7 separate regions of the Homo sapiens genome follow, and regions 1, 2, 3, 4, 5 and 6 are each linked to region 7. Evidence: promoter capture Hi-C in 16 types of primary human blood cells and fetal thymus (Javierre and others, 2016). All regions are on one chromosome and are shown on one strand. Each heading gives the region's core, a stretch centred on a gene start or on the middle of the fragment in contact. The rest is flanking DNA. Distances are from core to core; before and after follow the strand shown.

Region 1 (2,700 bases), core at 37-2,536, 600 kb before region 7:
AAAATGATGATTACCAGAAGCTGGTAGTAGAGGAAAAGGAAATTGTTGGTTAATAGATAAACAGGTTCAGATTTGCAAGATGAAAAGGTTCTGGAGATCTGTTTCCCAACAGTGTGAATATACTTAGCACTACTAAGCTGTACAGTTAAAAATGGTGAAGATGGTAGATTTTATGTTTTCTTTTTTTTTTTTTTTTGCCACAATAACAAAAAAAGAATTTTCTTATTTACAACTGTGAATAGACTCATTTGGTCTATACGTTACTAACTTGATAAGTTTCTTTAGGGCCTCACCTTTGAAAACGCATAGTAAATACTGTGAGAAGGGAGGGATAAGGAAAGGACATAAATCTGAATAGAAAGTCATTACATACCAGGGACTGGCTCTGGGACATACTGGAGAGCTAGTTTCATTTCACCTCTGTTTTCTGCTTCAAGGGCAACTGGTGCTGTCTGAAAAGTGAAGAAATGTCAGCAGGTGGGAGACAAACTTTTCATCCTGTTTGTTGGTATAGGTCTCATTACAGAACCATATCTGTCCCATTTCTGGGACCATGTGTCACTCATGAGTGCTCTGGATTAAAATTTCTCTCTGCATCAGAACTAGACTGTTGCCTTAATACCTGGGAAAACTAGGTTGTATATCTTGAAAAATCTTGCAGGATACCCAGAAAATATTTCAAGGCCTTTAGTCTCAAAGATGGTGAAGAAACCAGAATGGCTTTCTTGGAGATGGGAGAGGTTTCTTTGAATGCTTTAATTTTGATCAAAACACAAATATTTTGTTAGCTATTCAGCCAGCATATAAAACAATTTATTTGTATTCCCTTTATTTGAAGGAGTATGAGATAGTGTGTGAAAGTAAGGGGGGAAAGGCCATATCTTACATTTTCAAAGCTGCACTAATCTGATTATTTTAGGCCAAATGCATAGAAGTCTGTAAGTATAACAAAGACTGAACAATAATTTTTTAAACTTCTATCTGTTATTTTCAAGTACACGTTGAATATTCCTTATCTGAAATGCTTGGGATCAGAAAAGTTTCAGATTTCGGATTTGTTTTTTGAAATTCGTAATATTTGCATATACGTAATGAGATATCTTAGGGATGGGACCCAAGTCTAAACACAAAATTCATTTATGTTTCATATACATCTTCTACACATAGCCTGAAGGTAATTTTATATAACATTTTTAATAACTTTATGCAACCCATCACATGAAGCAGGTGTGGAATTTTCCACTTACGGCATCATATCGGCACTCAAAAAGTTTCAGATTTTGGAGCATTATGGATTTGAAATTTTTGAATTAGGGATGCTAAACCTGTATAAGAAACCTGCATAAGATAGTTTTTTACTTTCAAATTCTGGCTCTTTAGAGCTTTATTTTCAAAATATGGGTATGTATCAGAAACGTAATGGTAGCCAGTTAAAAATGAGATGCTTTTGATATCTTCTGAGGAGTTCAGGTCTTGGGTAGGGCTAGAAATAAGTGCTTCAAGTGATTTTGATATAACATTTGAGAACCATTTCTTTAGTGGAACTAAAACAGTTCCACTGTTGTGTAGACACTAAGTTATGGTTTGTATTAGTTATTTATATTTATCACTTCCTACTATGATGGACTAGCTTGGATCACATCAACCCCTAAACTAATAACAATTTAAAAGGTGGGATTTTAAATATCAGTTTGAAAGTGCTAAAGAATTATTAACACAGACAGGACTCAAATGAACAAGATCTTAGAGTCTGACATTCTTCTCTGCTTTTCACTTTGAGACATTTAAGTAGTGCCAAACTGAGCACATAAAAAGCCTAACAGAATGAGACTGAAAAGGTAAGCAGGACTTTTAGCAGTTTCATGAGGCTGGGGAGACAAAACTTGGAGCCCACGGCCTGTCAAGAAGGAATGGCACTGGAAAAACACTCTAGACCAGTGGTTTTCAAAGTACCGTTTCTAGGTCAGCTGCATTGACAGGGAACCTGTTAAAAATGTATATTCTTGGGCCCGTAAACCTTGGGAATAGGGCTCAGAATCTAGTGGGTCTATTTTTTTTTTTTTTTTGAGACAGGGTCTCGCTTTGTTGCCCACACTGGAGTGCAATGGCGTGATCTCAGTTCATTGCAACCACCACCTCCTGGGTTCAAGTGATCCTCCCATTTCAGCCTCTTGAGTAGCTGGGGCTATAGGTGCATGCCACCAAGCCTGGTTAATTTCTTTGCAAAGGCAGGGTTTTGCCACGTTCCTCAGGCTTGTCTCCATCCAACTCCTGGACTCAAGCAATCCACACCTCAGCCTCCCAAAGTGCTGGGATTAAAGCTGAGAGCCACCGCACCCAGCCCCAGAATCTGTGATTTAATAAGTCCTTCAGGTGAATCAGATGCATGCTGATTTTGAGAACTATTTCCCATGGCTTTCAGTTGGAACCTCTGAAGGGCCTTAGCCTAGGAATATAAGCAAACAAAAACTAGACCAGATCACATGAAAACTGGGCTTGTGCTTCAAAGTCAGTTTATTCCCAGATTAAATGAAGGTGGTCTGTGCCTGCTGTATCAGAAGCAAAAGTAAATCCTCCCCAATTATTCCTAGAACGTTCTCATATGCAATACCCCACATATGATCAAAAAATGAACGGGCATACCAAGACAAAGAACTAAGTGTCCAAACTAAGATTTTAAAAAATAGATAAGCAGGACTC
Region 2 (2,796 bases), core at 10-2,509, 620 kb after region 7:
AATTTTAGAAAATGTTAAGACGACTCTTTTTGCTGAAAATAAAAAGATATCACCTTCACAAAGGATGAGCTCATTTACGTAGGAAATAAAATAAAGCTATTGTGTCAGTATATACAGAAATGAATGTAAATGCAGAGATGAAGCTTGGGCAGGGAACACACCATTGCCAAAGTGCTTATTGGGAGAGAGGAGAAGGTAATAGGAGGGTGGTGAGAAGGTTGTTCCCTTGTTTCCCATATATTTCTGTATTATTTGAAGATTTTAAATCAAAGATGTATTCATATATTGTTTATGTTATAATTGCATTATTGTCTATGTACAGAAAGAAAGAAAGAAGTCTTCTCCCAGATATCCACATCTGCTTCAGATCTTTGTTCAAATGTCACTTTCTGAATATCCTATTTTTAAATTGCCACCTCACCACCATTAAAATCCCCATCCCCTTCTCTGTCTTCATAGCATTTACCACAATCTGACATCCTATATATTTTACTTTTTTACAAAATATTATTGTCTGTCTCTCCCAGACAATTAGAATGTAGGCTCTGTGAGAGCTGAGATTAGTGTGTGCCAGCTTTACAGCTGTAAACCCAGGGCCGAGGACATATACCAGGTGTTCCACAGGCCAACAGCCTGAATGTATACAGCATTATGCTAACAGCAGTTATTTCTGAATGGAGAGACTACAGATGTCTTTTATTTTCTTCATTCTGCTACTTGGTATCTGAATTTTTGTAATGAGCGCATATTAATTATATTACCTAAGAAAACAACAAAGCTCTTTGAATTTATTATTATTTTAATAACCTGGGAACTAAGAAAGAGGCTCCAGTAGAAGCCACCATGGAAGGAGTAAGGGCCTAGTGGGAGTCAGGCCAAAGAGCATAGGCGAAATCTCCTGAGATACTTGGTGGAGTAAAGTTAGTTGGAATTAAAAAACCAACTAACTTATGACTCCTCCACTGCCTCGCAGTTTCCAGACATCCGCAAAAATGCCTGGTGCACGGGTCACTGTTTCACAAAGGGTCTTCTGCCTCATAGCTTCCCATCCCCAAGCAGCGGGGCCCAGAAATTTGCCCACATCCTTCCATCCAGCAAATGTTTTTATCTGGGTCCTACTTAGGTTTCAGCCAATTCTTTGCTGAGCAACTTGGCTTCCTGTTTTCCTTGGGAACCAGACTCTTTTTAAGTTGGAGCCATAAAAAGAATGAAATCCTTTACCTGATACTTTTCTATTCGGGTATTCAAGCCTGCCACAGACGGAGGCCCTGTGGGCCACTCTCTCGTTGTGGGCACTGGCATCTTAGCCCAGCACTTTGAATAAGGCACATGTGAGAGTGAATGCTGCGCTTTTTTCATTCTTTTCTTCTCTCTCTCTTGTTTTTTTTCTGTTCTATTTCTAATTGAAAGCCATTGTCTTGAGTGAATGATTGTAGAGAAGGCTTACTCCTCATCTCAAAATGCCATCTCATAGGAGCAATGGGAGAAAGTGGTCCTGCCAGTCTGAAAGTTAAGAGACTTGGTTTCTCATAATTGTTCTGCCATTAAGTTGTTACGTGATCTTAGTCAAATCATGTTACCTCCCCGGGCCTCCGTTTCTTCATCTGCAAAATAAAGTTCTTTGCAGTGTTTCTCAAGTCCCTGCCCAAATCAGTGTTTGTTTAACTGAGGATGAACAGTGACACCTTGTGGTTCTCCTTGAGCCATGTCTTTGTTTTTTCTAGCCCAAGTTTAAGGGAGCCAAGGGTATCTTTGCCTGTTCCCCTGCCTGGCCCACCTACCCTAGCAGCTTCACTTAGCATGGCTCTAACCTGGTCTCCCCCTAGATTCAGAAAAGTGCATCCACCCTTTGTTCACCAGCTGCTTCCCAGCCTCAACTTGGCCAATGTTGCTAAAATCAAACTACAAGTAGACTGCAGACGCCAGCGTGAAGGCCTGTGCTTCTGTGGTGAGGTCTGCGGTTTGGTGTGAATGTGAGGGTATCAGCCCCAGGTGTTTTTTAGGGCTGCTAGTGCAGTCCCAGAGAGGGACCTGGGCAACAGCTCAAGGAGCAAGACTGAAGATTTTACTGTTTTCCAGCACTCCTACGAATTTGTAAAATTATCAGATTCCAAATTGTTCTATGCCATAGTTTTTCCATTCATAAAATAAGAAAAATCTGCCATAGCACTGCCTTCAAACTCAGTTAGTCTATTCATTCATTTACTTATTTGTTCTTCAAATATTTAATAAGCATCTTCCTGGTGCCAAGTTCTGAGCACCTACCTGTGCCAGTAGTCCGAACTTGAGAAGACACAGTCTCTACTTTTCAAGACCCTGTTCTTGTCTAATGAAGAAGAGAGAAGGAGGAAAAACTTCCATTGCCATGCAATAAGGTAAGCTTATGGCAGATAATGTGTACACATAATGGCATGGAAGCCTGGGGACAAACATCATACTAGGCCTGGGAAGAATGTTTGACAGAGAACAGGACACTTAAATACGGACGTTTACAGAATGGAGTTTGCCAGAGGAGACTCTTCAGGAAGAGAGAACAGAGTGGGAATAGGTACATAAACATGATCTATCTAGATGCCCTACCGTAAAATCAAAACACAAAACCCTACTGACTCAATTCCCTCCCCTTCCAGATATTACCCCATTTCTCTACTTCCCATTGTAGCCAAACTTTCCAAAAATTCATGTTCTGTCTTCATTTCCTCATGTTCAACCCACCCTGTCTTAGCTACCACCCCTCAGTAACGACCTAGCCTGGGTAGAAACAAATGTCAGCATGATACCATACTCAATGATCCT
Region 3 (2,700 bases), core at 170-2,669, 580 kb before region 7:
TGTGAATTTTAGGAAATGTTTGGTGAAGTGGCTTTTTCTTTTCTTTTTTTCATTTTTAAATTCTGACTTTTTATTCTTAATTGCAAATGCACAAAAAATATTCTAAACATAACAATGGCCAATTTTCAATCATATGAGTTTGGCAGTGGTTAACTTTTCACTTGATAATTTTTCTTATGACCATCTGCAATCCCAGGGGTGCATTTTAGCTTGAAAATAGCAAGAACAAAACCCCAAGAAATCATGGTTTCTTAGTCCATTTGTCTAGCACACAACTCTCTTTATATATTATGTTTTCTGCTAGTACTCAAGAAATCCTTCACCATTAAAGCAGCTGCCAGTGGGGAATCGTGTACCTAAAGTCTTTCATGTTAAGTAGTTTTGGGCTTATAGTTCCAGTATCTAGAAGAAAAGTGTGAACAGAATAGAAGGGATAAAAGAGAAAGGAAAGTCCTTGAAGCCAGGGACTAATTCAACTCCGTATCATGCAAAATTCACTGGACATCCAACGCTGTCATATATAATGTGGTCCCTTCATAAATGTTCTTGATAATAGCCTGTTAATTTTGAGTCCCAGATCTTCCGTGTAATACTAAAAAGGTCATTTCACATTTCTGAGCTTCATTTTCCTCATCTTTAAATTTGGATAACAATAATTCACCTCTCATAGGGTTGCTTGTGCTGGTTAAATGAGATAATACATGTAAAATTGTTAGGCACGTTTTGGCAAATAATATTCAATAAATGCTAGTTATGACTATTTTCACTAATACTACTAGCTACCACTATCCTTTGAAACTCACTGTACTTGAGAAACACTCAAACTGGGATTCTTCAATTAAAGGAAACCTAGTGTTTTAGTAACCAAATGTAATATATTATTTTATAAGCAAAGTTCCAGCCACTTTAGGTTGAGCCTCTTCAGCGCACTTTGGAGAGGTTATTTTCATCTGTTAACTGCCCCCATTAGAGGGTGCAGTGCACAACAGCACGCAGTGAGGCTACAGGAGAGCACATAGGCATTTTTAAGCTTAGATGGGGCATGAACAGTGAGGCGAACTTTATTCTCACTTGATGAATCTGATGAAATGTCTTCTAGACTTTTGGAAGGCATTTTCCTAGCGGCACTCCTTTCCAAAGTTTTCAAAACAGGACTGGGTTCTTCTTCTGAACCTGTTATAAAACAAAATCGATGAACACTGCACAATACCAAAAAAAAAAAAAATCCTCTAACATATGGACATAGAAATGGTAGGCTGAAAAGAGACATTATGCTATGAGTTTCTACTTTAAGAAGCACTTATTTCACAGAAGAAAATAAAATTTCTCCACTATTAATATGCTCTTAAACATAATTTTCCTGGTCAAGAAATATTTGCAAACGTAAACCCTACAAAAACAAGATTACCACATTAATAGAAATGTGATCTCTTAGTTGTTTACTCCTATTTTAGACATATGATTTGTCCTATGCCAGACATTGACTCTTCCCATTTAACATTCTAGCTTTTGAAGACAGCCATGAAATACTTCTAGGAGCATTAATAAAATTAATTCAAAACCGTGGAAGGCAGGATTCAGATGTTTAACATCTGTGTATAATTGGGTACACATATGAGTGCATTCTCCAGATCAAAGGTTGTAGACTTTCTGGGTTTCATGATCTAGTATAATTTCCAATGAAATGTTGGGAAATAACATGGGATAGTCAAATTTTTATTTTAGTAAGGCATTTTAAAGTTGCGGGAGGGAGGCCTCTATCATTTACTAATGCCGTTATTTTATAAAAGGAATGGCTGCATCATGAATAAGCTTAAGTACTGACATTTATTACTGCTGTATTCTCAGTGCCTAGAACAGTGGCTGGAAATAAACACTTCAAAATATTTGCTGAATCAATGAGTGATTCGATTAAGGAATCAATTAATTTAAGAACCACTTCTCTAGACAATAATTTCCTGAAATACATTCCAGTTCTGCCTAGTACATTCCATAGCAAATGGATTCTAAGATGAATTAGATTTGGATGTTCTCTGTTCAAATTTAAAATGTTCCTTACTGCGGACCTTCTCTGTGCATAATGGCCCAGCATTTCCAAAAGTATTTGACTACTGAACCTTTAATTTTTCCCAAAGGAGCATACTGAGGTATTGCTTAGTTAAGAGCTCAGCCGCAAGTCAAATGTGTTAGCTTGCTCCCCAAAATTACAGTACCCTTATAGTAGGTTTCTCTTCATTTTTCACCCCACCCCCACTGCAGTTTGCTTTAAAATAATAATTTAGGTTAGAGTATATAAACCTAAATTAAAATCATGACTATACCATTTGATACTTCTTAATTGGCTTGTTATTCTAAAATGTCTTCTCTGGGCTCTGTTTAGGTGATTTTTTTTTTTTTTTTTTTTTTTTTTGAGATGAAGTCTTGCTCTGTAGCCCAGGCTGGAGTGCAGTGGCGTGATCTCGACTCACTGCAAGCTCCGCCTCAGGGTTCACACCATTCTGCTGCCTCAGCCTCCCGAGTAGCTGGGACTACAGCCACCACCACGCCCGGCTACTTTATTGTATTTTTTAGTAGAGATGGGGTTTCACCATGTTAGCCAGGATGGTCTCGATATCCTCACCTCATGATCTGCCCGCCTTGGCCTCCCAAAGTGCTGGGATTACAGGCGTGAGCCACCGTGCCCAGCCTAGGTGATTATTT
Region 4 (2,700 bases), core at 18-2,517, 630 kb before region 7:
TTTGCAGCATCAACTGACACTTCCTTTCATGAAAGATTTCTCTATAGCACGTGATGTTGTTTGATACCATTTTGCCTATGGGAGAACTTCTTTCAGAATTGGAGTCAATTCTCTCCAACCCTGCGGCTGCTTTATCAACTGAGTTTATGTAATATTCTAAATCCTTTGTTGTCATTCAAACAATGTTCACAGCATCTTCACCAGAAATAGATTCCATCCCAAGAAACCATCCATTTTTCTTGGCTTATCCATAAGAAGAAATTCCTCATCCATTCAAGTGATATCATGAGACTGCAGTAATTCAGTCACATCTTCCAGCTCCAACTTTAATCCTAGTTCTCTTCTTACTTCTATCACATCTGCAGTTATTTCCTCCACTAAAGTCTTGAATCCTTCTAAGTCATCCATAAAGGATGGAATCCTCTTCCAAACTTCCAAACAAACGTTCTCAATGGCATCTAGAATGGTGAATCCTTTCCAGGTTTTCAATTTATTTTGCTTAGATAGATCAGAGGAATCACTGTGTATGGCAGCTTTGCCTTAATGTATTTCTGAAACAATAAGATTTCAAAGTTGAAGTAACTCCTTGATTCATGGCTTGCAGAATGGATGTTGTGTAAGCAGGCATAAAAACTTTAATCTCCTTGTAAATCTTAATTACAGCTCTTGAGTAACTAACTGCATTGTCAATGAGCAGTAACATTTGGAAAGGAATCTTTTTTTCTGAGCAGCAGTTCTCAACAGTGGGCTTAAAATATTCAGTAAACCACACTGTAGATAGATATGCTGTCATTCAGGCTTTGTCATTCCACTTATAGATCACAGTTAGAGTAGATTTAGCATAATTCTTGAAAGCCCTAGGATTTTTGGAAGGGTAAATATGAGCACTGGCTTCAACTTAAAAGTCACCAGCTGCATTAGCCCATTAGCCCCTAATAAGAGAGTCAGCCTGTCCTTTAAAGCTTTGATGCCAGGCATTGACTTCTCTAACTACTAAAGCCTTAGAGGGCATCTTCTTCCAATAAAAGGCCTTTTTGTCCACAGTGAAAATCTGTTGTTTAGTGTAGCTACCTTCATCAATTATCTCAGCTGGATCTTCTGGAAAACTTGTTGCTGCTTCTCCATCAGCACTTGCTGCTTCACCTTGCCCTTCTTTGTTACAGAGATGGGTTTTTCTCTCTAACTTGGCTGTGGTGCTTTTACTTCTCATTGCTAATTCCAAATCATTTCTTCTCCTCTCTCCTTCAGAATACCCAAACCTCATGAACCAACCTCTGCTAGCTTCTGCTAGCTTCCAGCTTTTCTTCTGCAGTTTCCTCACCTCTTTCAGCCTTCATAGAATTGAAAACAGCTAGGGCCTTGCTCTGGGTTTGGCTTCGGCTTAAAGGAATGTTGTGGCTGGTTTGATCTTCTATCCAGATCACTAAAACTTTCTCCATATCAGCAATAAGGATGTTTTATTTTCCTATCATTCATGTGTTTACAGAAGTGGCCCTTTATAATTTCCTTCAAATTTTTTTTCTCAAAAATATTTCCTCTGCATTCACGACTTGGCTAACTGGTGCAAAAGACCAAGCTTTCAGCCTGTCTCTGCTTTCAACACACCATCCTCACTAAGTTTAATCATTTCTAGCTTTTGACTTAAAGTGAGAGATGTATAACTCTTTCACTTGAACACTTAGAGGCCATTGTAGGATTATTAATTGGCCTAATTACAATATTGTTGTGTCTCAGGAATAAGCAGACCCAAGGAGAGGGAGAGAGACTGGGGAATGGCCAGTCAGTGGCACTCAGAACACACACAACATTCATCAGTGAAGTTTGCCATCTTATATGGGTGCTGTTCATAGCACCCCCAAACAATTACAATAGTAGTATGAAAGATCAATGATCACAGATCACCATGACAGAGATATTAATAATGAAAAAGCCTGAAATAGTGTGAGTTACAAACCACAGAGACACAAAGTGAACACATGCTGTTGGAAAAATGGTGCTGATAGACATGCTCAACTTATGGTTGCCACAAACCTTCGATTTGTAAAAAATGCCATATACGTGAAGCAGAAGAAAGTGAAATGCAATAAAACAAGGTATGCCTGTGGTACAGAGACGAGGGTGCTCATTTTACTTTAGTTTGCCTGTCTACCCATGAAGTATAATTTGTAAGGGGTAGTGAGACCATGAGGGGACATTAGGACTGGATGAAAATTGAAGAAATCAGGTGATTGACCGTGTCTAGGGCACTGTTGGATTATGTTTACAAGCACTACATACATATTTGCATGAAATGTGCAATTCCCAGTGTGCTAGCTGTATTATATTTCCACTCCTCTAACTCCTTCTCAAGAAAGCGTTTCTGAACGCAACTGAATGAGAATTATACTATTGTGGACTAATCTGGAATATATTTTATTTTAAAATTACCATCATTTGTAACCAACTGAAATAGTGAGAAATTACTAGTGTATGTCCTAACTAATCAAACCTCACAGTTGCTGCCACTCAAGTTGAGAATTGCTGCTTCAGTGGAGGAAAGGGAGCAGGCATAGAAGTTTGAGCATGAAAGATTTGGAAGGGTAGGAAGAAAGCTTTTCATATTCTGATAGCAAGGACTCCACTTCTCAAGTGGAAGTTGTTTCCTCTCTCACCGCAATGGGCACCTCGGAGCCAGAACTTGGCTGTTGTGCTCTTACTTCT
Region 5 (2,700 bases), core at 83-2,582, 660 kb before region 7:
ATAATCCACAGGCCAAAGAGGAAAGCAAAGTGAAATTAGAAATTCTTTTGAACTGAATTAAAATAATACAGAACATTTAAAAATCTATGGATACAGTTAAAGCAGCACTTGGAAATTTGTAATGATAAGCACATATGTTAGAGGGGAAAAAGATCTCAAATCAATTACCTCAGGTATGTTTTTAAGAAACGAGAAAAAGAGGAGCAACTTAAATCCTAGATAAGAATAAGAAAGAAACAATATAGAACAGAGGGGGGAAGAAATAGAAAACAGAAACCAATAGAAAAGAACCAATAAAACCAAAAGGTGGTTATTTGAGATTTTCAAAAATAATAAACAATTAGCATAAAGAAGGGAAGACATAAGTGACCAATATCAAGAGAGATGTTTCACCACAGATTCTACAGATGTTAAAATATAACAAGAAAATATTTTTGAACAATTTCAGCCAATAAACTTGAGAACTTAGGTGAAATGAATAAATGAATATTTGATCTTGTTTTGTGAAGATTTGTGAAGTTCACTCAAAAAGAAATAGATAATCAGGGTAGCCATATATCTACCATGAGTATTGAATTTATAGTTAAATCCTCCCTACAAGGAAAACTCAGATCCAGAAATCTTCACTGGTAAAGTCTACCAAACATGTAAGGAAGAAATAATAATATGATGCAAACTCTCCAAAAAAATTGAAGAGATGGGAACACTTGCCAACTCATTCAATAAGTCCAGCAATATCCTGATATCAAAGCCAGATAAAAACATTTTGAGGAAAGAAACTACAGCCTAATACTCCTCATGAACATTGATATAAAAACTTTTGACAAACTTTTAGCAAACCAAATACAAAAATATATATAAAGAATAGTACCTCATGGCCAAGCGGGGCTTATTCCAGGATTGCAAAATTGACTTAACATTTAAAAAAATCACTCAATGTTTTGTTCCACCAAACCCACAGCAGGAGTCACCCCAAAAGTGACAGCAGGGGAGTTTCCACAAGGGAGTGTCCAGAGTTATCCTGAGACTGGGCTGGTTGGGATTCAAAGAAAGAAGCACTAAACACCAGGGTCATCAGTCCAAAGCATTTATTAGGGGAAATTTTATATGACTGAACTGCAGCAATCCTCACCACAAACAGCAAGAGAAAAGGCTAGCAGTTCACAACAAGGGGATTAGGATATGGAGTTTATATGAGGGCTTAGGAATTTGGCTCAGGGCCAGGGCCAGTTTATTTTAGTGTTTTGGGCAACAACCTAGATACCTTTATCAGTGCCTGGAAATGTTTCAGGTCTCGGTTTGGATTCAAGCCTGCTAAGAAAAATCTGCAGCTGGCCAGGTCACAAAGCAGTCAAGGCGCTCTGTGATTTTTGGTCAGGACACGGAAAGATGGCTGGGGAACGTGGAGCCCCTACACAATATAATTCACTGTATCAACAGACTAAACAAGGAAAAAAAACAATCATCTGAATAGATACAGAAAAAGCATTTGACAAAATCCAACATCTGTTCCTGATAAAAACTCCCAGCATGAGGAAAAGAAGGGAACTTCCTTAAGATTTTGAAGAGCATTTACCAAAAAACCTATAATTAACATGATGATGGTGGGAAACTGAATGACTTCCCCCTAAGATCAGGGAAAATGCAAGAATGTCTGCTTTATTGCTTCTAGCCAACATTGTATGGGAGAGTCTAGCCAGATTGGAAAAGAAGAAATAAAATTATCTATGTAATTTTTAAAATCCTATTTGATTTAGCAAGGTTGTAGGTTATAAAATGTAAAAGAAAAAATAAATTGTAACTCTCCAGATAAGCAATTAACAATAAGACCAAGCAATTTGTCCATTTTGTCTAAATTGTCGAACACAGTGGGTTAAAGTTGTTCATAATATCCTCTCCTTATCCTGTTAATGTGTGTAGAATCTGTATTAATGTCCCTTCTTTCAGTCCAAAAAGATTTAGTTGTTTGGTCTCTTTTTCTTTTGATTAGTCTTATTAGGGCTTATTGATTTTATTAATATTTTCAAAGAATCACAGTTGGTCTTTTCTCTATTGTTTTTGTCTTTTCCCTTTCATTTATTTCCACTCTTACCTTTATTATTCCTTCCTCTTTGATTTCCTTTTTGCTTAATTTGATTTTTTTAAAAAAATATTGATTTGGTTGATTTTGCCCTTGATTCTAGGGCATAACCCTTAGTCATTGGATGTAGTCATTAATTCTAAGATGCTGCTCAGTGGAATGTCCAAAGTTTTCACCCGGTCTGTATAACTTGGAAATATTTAAATTTCCGATATTTGAATTTAAATATTCAAAAATACACTGTCTTCCCAGCATCAGATGACTGCTGAAATTTCACTTTATCTCTTCCAGTCTTCCAACTGTTGCTGTCCATTGGGTTCTTTGGGTCTTACCACATGCATGTACTGTTATAATGTCAGCCAAAAATTTGAGGGGATTTTTTAGACAGATTTTGGGGTTCCCTTTTCAAGGTTCCTGCCCCAATTTTCAGTTGATCTGGCATTTCCAAATTTCAACTTCTGAGTGTTTTAGAATGGGAAGAATGCTGCTTTATACTGACACTCGATATTCCCCATGTACTGCACAGACTAATGCCCTCATGAAAAAAAGCTGGATAAATGTGGATCTTACCCACTATTTTTCCCATCTTTCAAGAATTGTATACCTTCCTGTGTTTTCAT
Region 6 (2,874 bases), core at 9-2,508, 730 kb after region 7:
CCCATTGCACTCCAGCTTGGGTGACACAGCAAGACTCCGTCTCAAAAGAAAAGAAAAGAAAAGAAAATCAGAATCATATGTAGCTTTGTGAAAAGCTTGGTTACTGACTGTTGCTGGAATCAAGAGCTACTACAGTGTCATACTTCGAGTTTGCCGTACTTTGCCATTGTACTTGTGCCTGATAATTATTTCTACAATGACTGCATGTAGATCTAAACTAGATTAGTGTCGTTAAATCCTCTGCATTAGATCTTAAGAGCTCTTCCATTCTTTTTCGTTGACATCTTCAAAACTAGAATCCTACAAGAGCAACAACTTTGTGTTTTTTTTTTTTTTTTCATTCTTCCATCACAAAGAAAGGGGCAACAATTTTCATCTTGGCGTTTCTTCAAAGCCTTTGAATTCCATCATAAATTGCCAGATTAGTTTTCTTCATCCACTGTGCACCTTCTTTGGAGAAACTCTTTGCTTCACCTTGTTGATGAACCCTAAAGCCCTCCCTGCGTTTTTTTAATGAAAAAGAAGAAACAATGAAGCCCCCAGAAAGTATCCAATCAAGCCACTGTCATAGCCAACCTAAAAGAATAAATGACCCATGCAGATGCAATGTTTAACATTATCTTTAAACTTAATGGTGGCATGAAGAGAAGGCTTTCTTTTAAAAAACAGCCTGCTATATCTTATAATACCATATAAAGAAATTTACAAATGTAAGCTACTGGTTTAACTGCATACTGCTCCATTTTGCAATTTTTTTTGCATCCTAAAGCACAGATCATCTCCCCTGAGGATTTATCAATGCCTTCCTGTTTTGGAATCTCCATAGCAGCACTAGAAAAGATAGAGTATCCTTTCTTTTGAACTTGGGAGTTTCCCTGAAATCACCCCTTTGCCACCCAGCTCATCAGCATTGTCCCCTTTGGCACCATCCCCTTTTTCTCAAATTTCTTTATGCTTCAAGTCTCCATTTAACAGTTAATTAGGACCAGGTGTGTTGGTGCACACCTGTAATCCCAGCAGTTTGGGAGGCTGAGGTGGGTGGACAGCTTGAGCCCAGGAGTTCAAGAGCAGTCTGGGTAACACAGGGAGACCCTACAAATAATTTAAAAACATTAGCCAGGTGTGGTGGCGTACCTGTGGTCCCAGCTACTCAGGAGGCTGAGGCAGGAGGATCTCCTGAGCCCAGGGGATATAGGCTGCTGTGAGCTGTGATTGCGCCACTGCACTTCAGCCTGGGTAGCAGAGTGAGACCATGTCTCAAAACAAACAAAAAACAGTTAACTAAAAGAAACCACCTGGTTTTAATTGTAATTTTAAAATTTCCTTATTTATTAATGTGTAATTGCTGGGCCACATAGTAAACATATTGTTTATTATCAGGCATGAAAACTATATTGTGCTATTACATTCAGAAGCAACTGAGAGTTAACAATCATATTAAAAATTTTTTTTTTTTTGAGACGGAGTCTTGTTCTGTTGCCCAGGCTGGAGTGTAGTGGCACCATCTCGGCTCACTGCAACCTCCGCCTCCCAGGTTCAAGTGATTCTCCTGCCTCAGCCTCCTGAGTAGCTGGGATTACAGGTGTCCACCACCATGTCTGGCTACTTTTTGTATTTTTAGTAGAGATGGAGTTTCACCATAGGCCAGGCTGGTCTTGAACTTATGACCTCAGGTGATCCACCAAGCTCAGCCTCCCAAAGTGTTGGGATTATAGGTATCAGCCACCGTGCCCAGCTCGTATTAATTGTTTGGTGAATAAGATGTTATTTGTATAGTATTGTACATCTTAACATGATCATTTTTTGTTAATATTTGATACTATGTTTTAAATACTTGTTAAGAATTTTTTGGTTGATATGTAATGCATTTTATTTTTTCCCATTTAAAACTAAGTTCCTATTCAGCATTTTCTTGTGAAAGGATCACAGATATTCAGGAATGGATTATTGAAAAAAAATAAGCCTGCACTGCTATTTCTGTAATTTTTTGGATAAGTTTATGCTGTGTTTTTGATCTTCTTAGTTTCTGAATTGGAGATTTGAAAAAAATTGTGATTATCTTGTTCCTATTCTACCATTGTATATTGGATGTGTTGAGGCGGATGATAACTTTATCATGAGATCTGCATCTGGTCCTGAGGAATATTCTGGACTTTGGCTAGGATTCAGCAACTGCATGGAATTTTAGGTTGTCTCCCTTGGAAAAGGGAAGGTATGTCTATCTGTAGAAAGAATGGTGTGCCCGGATATTTGGGTAGCCAGAGACATAGAACTATGGCAGACACTGCTAGTTGCCTCTAATATCTGTTTTTTCCATTTTGCTCAGTAATAAAACCTCAAATGTTAGCTGGGCATTTGTCCCATTAATTAAAAAAGATTGTATTCACCATCCTCTCTTGCAATGAAGTGTGGCCATGTGATTAAGCTTTGTCCAAGGAACGTAAGTTGTAGTAGTTTGTATGGATCTTCTGGGAAGTTTTTTTAAAAACAGGAAGTATGCCCTTTTCTCCCCGCCCCCGCCCCCCCGTTTTTTTTTTTTTTTTTTTTTTGAGATAGAGTCTCTCTCTGTTGCCAAGGCAACAGTGGTGTGATCTTGGCCCACTGCAACCTCTGCCTCCTGAGTTCAAGCGATTCTCCTGCCTCAGTCCCTGAGTAGCTACGATTACAGGAGCGTGTCACCATTTCTGGCAAATTTTTGTATTTTTAGTAGAGACAGGGTTTCACCATGTTGGCCAGGCTGGTCTCAAACTCCTGACCTCAAGTGATCCACCCGCCTCAGCCTCTCAAAGTACTAGGATTACAGGTGTGAGCCACCGCGCCCGGCCTCTCTTCCCCTTTTGCTGGTCTTCCTGGCTAGCATGTTGATGTCATGTT
Region 7 (2,807 bases), core at 271-2,770:
AATAACCAAGTGAATATTACAGGGAGATAAAACAAGTTGCATAAGCACATACAAATTTAAAAGTAGGAGTTGCTCAGAGAATTCAAAAGTATGGCTAGTGCACAAGGTGGGTATGAAGAAGACATGGAAAATTAGTTAGGAAAGGCAATAATGCTAAATATTAACATTTATTGAGTAAGCTACATTCTGGCCACTATTGAGTACTTTACGTGTAAGAACCCTCAAAACAACTTTATGAGGTAGATACTACTATTACTTCATTTTAAAGATGGGGAAAAGGAGGTATGGGAGTGTTAGGTTAACTTGCCTGAGATTATGTAACTAATAAATGGCAGAGATGGGCTCTGAACCCAGGTAGTGTGGGTGCCTTAATTTATGAAGTGGTCTTCATATGAATGGCCTTTTTATTCTGAAGGTTCTAGGACTTTTTAGATAGTAAGTTGGAAACATTGGTAGATCCTTTCCTACCTCTTCACCTTTGGCACAGCTATCTCAAAGGAGTATCGGTGATAAGATAGGTGATCAGTTTAGGGATCCACAGTGGAGGCCAGAGGACTGTTCCAAACACTGATCCCCCATATATAAACTGAGAACTGGGAAGACAGACCTGCTTTACGGCTGGTGGCCAAGCTCAGATATTTCAAATTGGACAGAGACCCTTTACTATCCTATTCAAGAAGAAAAGGAATTGGAGCTGTGAAAGGGAGAATAAGTATTGGTGGCAATCGGTACTTAATGCCAGTATTTTTTTTTTTTTTTTTGGCTATTGTTTTGTATTTCCTATGAAACTTTTCTGCAGATCCACATAGAAAAAAAATAGACATTTTTACAATAAAACTCCCACTAATTAAGCACAGCCAAGCACTGTTTTAAGTGTTTTATACATATTAGCTCATTTAATCCTCACAGCAACCCTAGGCAATAGGCTCATTATTTGTCTTTTGCAAAGGAGGGGCACTGAAGCACAAAGACATCTACAACTCGTCCACAATTGTACAGCAAATGAATGGGAGAACTAAGTGAAGCTGGAAAGAACTACTATAAATTGTAGACAAGTACAAAACAATTGGTTAAAGATTAATACTTCTGAGACACTGTGTAGCAGAAAGAAACCCGGATTTGGATTAGGACTTGAATTCAGCCTCCAACATTTACTGCTGTGTAAAGATTTGAGGCTGATCACTCCTATAAAATTTGGATTATAATACTTACCTCATAGGGTTTTTGTAAAGATCTAGTGACGTGATTATTGTAAAAGTGCACCGTTAATCTCTCAGATGTCACAGAAACGTTAGAAGCATCTCTTCCCAGGATTGTACATGGAAATGAAGGATCCACAGATTTTGTGGCTATAAAACACCCGGACTACCGATCCCAGTGTGCAAAGCCTCCAGGCTTACCTTCCCGGAAACTGGCGCGGTGCCCTCTGGGACTTGTTCTGGGACTTGTAGTCTTGTACTGGCGCTGGCCCGCCTTTCTTCCTTAGTGGGGAAAACCGGGTGTAAGCCCCGGAAGTACTTGTTGCCTGAGCAGTGGGCTGCTTAGGAAGAGAAGGTCAGAGTTCGCGGGGGCAGAGGCATTCTTGCCGCTGGCCCAGTCACTATGTAGTGGAGGGGCAGACACCCTCCCGCAAATTCTGGAAGGTTCTTAGTCTCGACTAGGGCAGTAGCCCCAGGACTCCTAGTCGCCGGCTTCAGGTCACTGCCGGCTGAACGGAGCTGCCGTCGCCATGTTTGGCTGCTTGGTGGCGGGGAGGCTGGTGAGGATGGGACCGGGTGATATCAGGAAGGGGTCAGGATACCGAGGGCGAAGCCCTACGGCAGGGAGGGTGCGCAGGCGCTAGGGATGCGGGGAAGCCCACTTATTATATTTTGGGTGGGTATGTGAGGATGGAGCGTGGGAAGCTGGGTGCTCTCCTTTGCCCAGCTCTATTCAGATTCTTTCGAATAGTAGTCACAGTATAAGTTGGCATTTATTAAGTGTGCATTTTGTACCAAGTACTGGGCTAAGTGCAATGCACGCCTTTGGTCACTCAGCCTTATGTGTGGCGCTTATTTGGCACTTTGAACTTAATCCTCATAACTCGTGAGATGGTCTTTATCTTTGACATTTTGCAGTTACAGAACTAAGTTCAATCGCCAGTATAAATACCTTCTTTATTAACTTGAGGTAGAGGTGAATTTGGGATTGAATTTGGTCTATAGCAAACTGTTTTTCAAAGATTAAGGTGCTCAGGGAATGTATATCTTTTGGGTCCCTTTGGAAGAACCCGAGTAAAAATAAGCTTAATTTAATTGGAAGTTGGCTGAAACTTAACGTGTGAGCCGTATCTGAGATAACCAGAGAAGGATGCGAGTAGTGTGTTTCCTTATGGGTCAAAATAGATAACTTACCTTGCCAAATTGTTAGAGTAAATGAGAACAGCACCTGGAATTCTTTAGGAATAATCTGGAAGGTGAATCTTGTTTGTTTCCTTAGAAACCACACAGACATCAATTTTCAGGCCTGATTCCTTTCCCCTAGAAGTATTTTTCCTTCTTTTTTCTCCTGGCTTTTTAAAATGTTGCAGTCCCTTTGCTGAATTGTCTTTTTTTCCCATCAAGTTTTGATAATGTATTGTATTCTGTACATATACAGTTCTAAGAAGCCAGAAAGATAAGTTGGAGATGACTAGCCTCATAAAGTTTGTCTCTTGAATGACTGGGAGACCCCTGTGGTGATGGTGGTAATTCATAATCCTGGTGAGATAATTTTGCCCTGCTCTTAATAGGGAAAAAGGACAAACCTGGAATGATTGTGTGACTCAG

The links. Contacts are between HindIII fragments. The CHiCAGO score rates a contact against its expected background, and 5 or more counts as called.
Region 1: a contact is called between a fragment that was not itself captured here and the fragment with the promoter of HIKESHI in region 7, in 5 of 17 cell types (non-activated CD4 T cells, total CD4 T cells, naive CD4 T cells and 2 more). The highest score is 8.3, in non-activated CD4 T cells.
Region 2: a fragment that was not itself captured here is called in contact with the fragment with the promoter of HIKESHI in region 7 in 1 of 17 cell types (endothelial precursors); the score reaches 6.1 in endothelial precursors.
Region 3: a fragment that was not itself captured here is called in contact with the fragment with the promoter of HIKESHI in region 7 in 3 of 17 cell types (activated CD4 T cells, naive CD8 T cells and non-activated CD4 T cells); the score reaches 6.6 in activated CD4 T cells.
Region 4: a fragment that was not itself captured here is called in contact with the fragment with the promoter of HIKESHI in region 7 in 12 of 17 cell types (total CD4 T cells, activated CD4 T cells, naive CD8 T cells and 9 more); the score reaches 12.5 in total CD4 T cells.
Region 5: a fragment that was not itself captured here is called in contact with the fragment with the promoter of HIKESHI in region 7 in 15 of 17 cell types (non-activated CD4 T cells, naive CD4 T cells, naive CD8 T cells and 12 more); the score reaches 33.9 in non-activated CD4 T cells.
Region 6: a fragment that was not itself captured here is called in contact with the fragment with the promoter of HIKESHI in region 7 in 1 of 17 cell types (naive CD4 T cells); the score reaches 5.8 in naive CD4 T cells.

What each region holds. Positions count from the first base shown.
Region 1 is chr11:85,700,142-85,702,841 of GRCh38, forward strand. It overlaps SYTL2 (synaptotagmin like 2), which reads right to left. Exons shown (of 20, transcript NM_206927.4): 17 at 374-452. Among named protein-coding and RNA genes, the nearest start is that of CCDC89, 15 kb to the left of the region's middle. The HindIII fragment of the contact is 3,118 bases long and covers 1-2,700 here.
Region 2 is chr11:86,918,091-86,920,886 of GRCh38, forward strand. All of the region lies in intron 2 of PRSS23-AS1 (PRSS23 antisense RNA 1), which reads right to left. It also overlaps a transcript of PRSS23 not described here. Among named protein-coding and RNA genes, the nearest start is that of PRSS23-AS1, 19 kb to the right of the region's middle. The HindIII fragment of the contact is 2,237 bases long and covers 142-2,378 here.
Region 3 is chr11:85,719,787-85,722,486 of GRCh38, forward strand. It overlaps SYTL2 (synaptotagmin like 2), which reads right to left. Exons shown (of 20, transcript NM_206927.4): 9 at 1,072-1,173. Among named protein-coding and RNA genes, the nearest start is that of CCDC89, 35 kb to the left of the region's middle. The HindIII fragment of the contact is 782 bases long and covers 1,029-1,810 here.
Region 4 is chr11:85,673,657-85,676,356 of GRCh38, forward strand. It overlaps a transcript of CREBZF not described here. Among named protein-coding and RNA genes, the nearest start is that of CREBZF, 9.9 kb to the left of the region's middle. The HindIII fragment of the contact is 614 bases long and covers 961-1,574 here.
Region 5 is chr11:85,642,239-85,644,938 of GRCh38, forward strand. No RefSeq gene overlaps it. Among named protein-coding and RNA genes, the nearest start is that of TMEM126A, 4.4 kb to the right of the region's middle. The HindIII fragment of the contact is 8,633 bases long and covers 1-2,700 here.
Region 6 is chr11:87,033,738-87,036,611 of GRCh38, forward strand. The region is part of intron 1 of LOC105369422 (a long non-coding RNA gene); the gene reads right to left. Among named protein-coding and RNA genes, the nearest start is that of TMEM135, 2.8 kb to the right of the region's middle. The HindIII fragment of the contact is 2,330 bases long and covers 94-2,423 here.
Region 7 is chr11:86,300,720-86,303,526 of GRCh38, forward strand. HIKESHI (heat shock protein nuclear import factor hikeshi) reads left to right here and starts at 1,521. Exons shown (of 5, transcript NM_016401.4): 1 at 1,521-1,759. The coding sequence starts at 1,730. The HindIII fragment of the contact is 4,753 bases long and covers 1-2,282 here.